2 separate regions of the Homo sapiens genome follow, and region 1 is linked to region 2. The links are contacts of gene promoters, found by promoter capture Hi-C in human tissues and cell types (Jung and others, 2019). All regions are on one chromosome and are shown on one strand. Each heading gives the region's core, a stretch centred on a gene start or on the middle of the fragment in contact. The rest is flanking DNA. Distances are from core to core; before and after follow the strand shown. Region 1 overlaps RAD18 (RAD18 E3 ubiquitin protein ligase). Region 2 holds the start of OXTR (oxytocin receptor).

What was found. The method cuts DNA at HindIII sites, captures the fragments that hold promoters and counts their contacts. A contact is called where the count stands out against the background at its distance.
Region 1: a contact is called between a fragment that was not itself captured here and the fragment with the promoter of OXTR in region 2, in 5 of the 25 tissues and cell types used here (adrenal gland, bladder, heart right ventricle and 2 more).

What each region holds. Positions count from the first base shown.
Region 1 is chr3:8,890,889-8,893,588 of GRCh38, reverse strand. The region is part of intron 11 of RAD18 (RAD18 E3 ubiquitin protein ligase); the gene reads left to right. Among named protein-coding and RNA genes, the nearest start is that of RAD18, 71 kb to the left of the region's middle. The HindIII fragment of the contact is 5,103 bases long and covers 1-2,700 here.
Region 2 is chr3:8,768,363-8,771,062 of GRCh38, reverse strand. OXTR (oxytocin receptor) reads left to right here and starts at 1,450. Exons shown (of 4, transcript NM_000916.4): 1 at 1,450-1,832; 2 at 2,472-2,567. RefSeq lists enhancers at 1,286-1,335, 1,983-2,654. The HindIII fragment of the contact is 11,538 bases long and covers 1-2,700 here.

The sequences.
Region 1 (2,700 bases), core at 66-2,565, 120 kb before region 2:
AACCTGGAACTTTACTATTCTAATACGTTAGCCAACTGCTAAAATATTTGGCATATAAGCTATTGTTTGTCTTACAGATTACTAAAAATAGGGGTTTGAGGGAAGATTCATGGTAGCTGACAGAATTTATTTAAGTACCATTGTCTGGTAGGCATGTTGTCCTGCATTGATCCTCCAGTGATCTACCCTTGAAGAGTTATTGTTTTAAATTGGATATACTCAACCACGTTCAAATTAGTGCCACAATTAAGGGAAGAAATATGGGCAGGTAACTACTAGATGCTAGAAAAATTCCACTTGTAGGTAATCCTTAATCCTCAGGATTTTTATAGCAGATGTTTGCGTTTTTTCCTACCCCGCAGTACCCTGTGTACCTGCCATGCTGGTTCTGATGAATTTACACCCTGGTGTCATAGAAACAGTGGAAATCAAAGATTAAAATAGAGCACATAGTAATCAGGTTTTCTCGGGCAAATTGGAGCATGGTGCTGAGGCAATTATTCAGATAATTCAGACCCAAATCTGTTTTATGAAAATGGAACTGACATTTGTTGAACATTTACTGCGTACCAAGCTCTATGCTAAATATTTAATGTGTTATATTGAATAAGCTTTTAAAAAGCCCTAAGGAATACATGTATCATTATCCTGATTTTATATGTGAGGATATTGACACAGAGGAAAGTTAAGTAACTGGCCCAAAATTACACAGTAAGTAACAGAAATGGGACCTCAACTTAACTTTGTCTGACACCGAAATCTGAGGGTTTTTTCTCTAACTAACATTACCAGTCATACATTTGCCGTAGGTATTTGACATCTTACTTTTCAGCTTCAGTAGTAAATTCTTTACTAGTAGAATGAAATAAGATGCTACAAAAGGAATATGCGAAGATAGTGTTTTACTTTGCTGAAGAAGCTGTGCTACTTTCCGTCAGAGAATGACAAGAGTGAGATATTACAGAAAAACCAGCTTGGCCAAGGTGTGCATGTGTGTGTGCATGCACACACACAGAATTAGCTTACATTTCTGCAACTTTGACCTGAAAATAAGGCTAAAAGCTGACTAAAAGGTGTGAAAAATAAATTGCAGGTGTTCTAAATAAGCCTATTAATATCTTCCTGGACCAAGGTTGGGAATTCCATCGAATTCAAGATTCGATTTTGAATCTTTGCCAGTGAGTCTTTCTCACGTGTAATCTATATATTAATATCCACTGTAGCCTGGACCAGTAGGGACATCAGAGAGGGCCATTTGAATGCCCTTCCATAGGGGAGCTGTAACGTTCATGTACCAAACCTTACATTCATCCAGCTTCTTGAAGCGTGGTCTTCCAGAATGTTTCAAGACCAAATAGTAGACAAGCTGAAAAAGTTCCTCGTTCTAGACTTTAAAGCTGCAGTTGTGTAGGCTTGTATATGCTCTGACCCCAGAAATATCAGAATGAGTAATTAATTTTCTCCTTTGGAAGATTTTTTAAATGTCTTGAAAGAATGTTAAAGGAATTTTTGATCCTCAAGGCATATTAAAATGACTAAGACTTCAAAAATATTAATTGCTTTTATCCCCAGGGAAGCGATCTGAGTGATAATTTTAGTAACACTGACTGCTATACCTAAGTGTCTTTTTGTAAAATCCTATTTGTGAAACTATGTTTAATTTTAGGAATGTGGTTTTTGAGCAGATATGGTAATAAGCACATTACTTGAAAAAGGAATGAGCAGTTCTGTCTGGTATTTTAATTGTATTAGCATCAACTGTGTTTTTCAGTGGTGACTAGAATTGGAACAGCAGATATAGCAGATAATCCTGAAACTTCATTTTAGATAAAATTCTGAACCTCCCAAATTTTGTATCAGTCCATTTAGTGATTTGGTTATCATTCAGGTGAGTGCCTGAGGTGGGGCAGAAGGAAAGATAATGGGAATTGAAGACACCAGGGAGCTGTGCAGCCTGGCTGGGCAGTGACATTGAAGTCACAGAGGAAGAGGAGATTGCAGGCAACTTCTGAGATGTGTTTTTTGTTAACCACCTCTAACATCTGTTTTCACTGAGGTAGCATAGCAAAAACCTCTTAGATTTATGTCATTAGTGTACTGCAAATGTTTTCCTTTAACAAATCAGTGATTTGTGCTGGTGATTTGAAAGCCCCTAGGTAAATTGATCACAGACTCTACTAGGTTAGTTGACAGGCTTGGCCATCCTCCTTTCTTAGCTAGAATAGTAGAGATGCTTTGTAACCTTCCTGTTTAAAAAAAAAATTGTGTGTGTTGTGGAGCACAGGGGGGTGTTGGCAAGAAGCTTACTTTACTCTTTCTCCAACTCTGTGACCCCTGCCAGGCCCCAGAACTACGTGATCCTCCGCAGCTCCCATTTCCCTAGCTCGTGGGTTTTCAGTAGGAGCAGTATCACCCCCAAAGGGTGGAATTTTGTTTTTCGTGGGGGTGGGAAGTGGGTAAAAAGGTTACTGTGTGTATGCATAAAACACAGATATATATATATATATATATATTTTATATATATATGCTTTATACATGTGCGTGTATGTGTATCTCAACACATGAACAAACAGACATCATATTTGTGGTATTAAAATTTCATGGGATTGGGGGAAAAGTGTAAAAAGGCTGCTTAGGAAGATGATAGTTTTAAAAGCTTGAGAAACAGTACCTTAAGCACATCAGGTAAAGAAGAATGGA
Region 2 (2,700 bases), core at 201-2,700:
ATGGGGATCACACTATTACTGTTGTTGTTATTGTTGTTGTTTAGATTAAAACTAAGTTAGAGAATTTACCTTTTGCATGAGACTAAATAGCCCTGTTAGGTGAATCCAGAATTAGGCTGTCTCACGGGCTACGCGAGGACCACACAGGTAGGCAGGCTTCCCTACAAAGGGTAGAAGAGTCTGTCCTTGGTGAAGTGGCTCAGTAAACTTGCTCCCTAGAAAGCAGCTGTCTTCCAGGAGAAAGAAGGGCAGGCTTGGTTCTACAGGCCAGTGTTTTCCTTCTCACATTCACCGGTCAGGGGCTCATAGGGAAAAATCTGCCTTCATCCAGCCGTGGAGTGAGGCAGGGGTGTTTTACCTGCTAGGATTGAACCCTCAGATTGCACAGATTATACAGTTTCAGAAAACCAGAGGGACAGGACCTCAGACATTAGCTATCTTGACCAGTGCTCTCATTTTACATATGAGGAGACTGAGGCCCAAAGAGAAGGGGCTTGCCCAAGGTCACTTCATTCTCACCTGAGTCGTCTGTAACTTTAATCTGTAATTTTCGAGGCCGATAGGTACTATTGACTAATATTGATTAATACTGCCTGCCACCCCTTGGCAATGCTGTCAAGATTCCCAGCCCCATTCTGGAATGATTACTCAGCTAGAACCCTGGGATCCAGGTGCTGTAAGGTTGGCCCCTGGGATATCTCGGCATGGGGCTGTAATTGTGGATTAAGGAAACCCAGTCCTTGGCTAACTCAAGTCTCTCCACATAATAAAAAGACGGAGAAGTGAAATGTCAGGAGGAAATACACATTTAATGCATTTTAAAGAGCCCTGTTTATTTTTGAATCCTGGCCTTTTTTTCTGACTTAATTCTTGGCCACTGTAAATTACTTCAAAAAATGATTTTAGAATAGAGAAGGGGCAGGGAGGCTGAGAAGCTGTCTTTAACATTTTATCTTCCTTTGGCATCATTTAGAATTTTAATTCCGAAGCGCGACAAGGAGGCAGAAACGGCTCTTGGGCGCAGACAAGCAGAATCACTTTAAATGAAGACAGTGTTGTGCTTCAGAATTTCCTCTAAAACTACCGAAAAAATAACGCCTCTCCCAGCACTGCTTAGAATAGAGGCCATTTCTAATTCCTCATTAACGGGAATAGGAACAAAAGTATTCCAAAGCAAAGACTTATTTGAGTTCACTGCTAAAGCCGCTACATCAAGCTGGAGGTGTGGGGGGAGAGAAAAGCCTGAAAATTAACATCATTTTTGGGAAATAATCAGTTTAAATGCTTTTGTAACTTCATCACTATCTACCCGGGGAAGAACATTATTATTCAAGCCTCCTATGTGTCTCGGAGTCAAGAGCTTCTAAACCAAGAAAGGAAGAAACGGGCGGGTTATTGACGAGTTCCCTCCCTCTCGCAGTTTTAAACCACTGCAAAATAAACCCATTTGTTAAGGCTCTGGGACCAACGCTGGGCGAACCAGCTCCGCTCCGGAGGGGTCTGCGCGGCTGGCCTCGCCCGCCCCCTAGCGGACCCGTGCGATAGTGCAGCCTCAGCCCCAGCGCACAGCGCCGCATCCAGACGCTGTCCGCGCGCGCAGCCTGGGAGGCGCTCCTCGCTCGCCTCCTGTACCCATCCAGCGACCAGCCAGGCTGCGGCGAGGGGATTCCAACCGAGGCTCCAGTGAGAGACCTCAGCTTAGCATCACATTAGGTGCAGCCGGCAGGCCATCCCAACTCGGGCCGGGAGCGCACGCGTCACTGGGGCCGTCAGTCGCCGTGCAACTTCCCCGGGGGGAGTCAACTTTAGGTTCGCCTGCGGACTCGGTGCAGGTAGCTGGGTGCTAAGCAGGGGTGGACGGGATGGCTAGGGCCGGTGGAGCCATCGGGACCCGAGTGGAGGTGGTGGGGTGCCTCGCACTCCTTGTTCCTGGAGGAGCTCGGGGTGTTCCGAGAGATTGTAAAGTGACTTCTCGGGATTGAGACTCAGAGTCCTTGATTATCTGGGTCCAAAGCGCAAGTCAGGGGTTCCAGAACTTTCGAGGCTGCCGGGCTGGGGAGGAGCCCCGCGGGAGGTGTCTATGCCAGGGTCTGGGAACAGCGCTTGGGCATCTTGGGCTTTGAGGCAGGGGTTCCCCCAGCAGGGACTGCAGAACCGGGTTTCCACCGAAGCAGGTGCTGTGGAAGTTCAGGGAGTGACGGCCGACCGTCTTAGAAAAGGGGGTTAGACGGGGAAGGACCAGAGCTGGGGTTTCCCAGGCAAGTGGCTATTTGGGGATTTCCGGAGGAAGTACTTGAATTAATGTTTACTAGGAGAGGGGCTGGTTTGGGGGTCCCGCGGCAGGTGGATATGCTGAGGGTCGGAGCCTGGGGCGAGTAGGTAGTTTGGAGATTCCCTCGGGGAGGTGATTTGGTTTTAGATTCCCACTCCCGGAGGAACGTTGCTGATTTTGACCCTCCCTTCTCCCCCAGTGGAAGCCGCTGAACATCCCGAGGAACTGGCACGCTGGGGGCTCTGGGCTTGTGGCCGGTAGAGGATTCCCGCTCATTTGCAGTGGCTCAGAGGAGGTACCTCCAACGGGGATTTCTGGGGTGGCGGCTGAGCAACCCGAGGCCGGCGGTTGTGCCCTGTTGTTTCAGATGAGTTGGGTTCCTGGGAATGGGACAAGCACGCCCTACCCGCGTCGGAAGAGAAACGCGG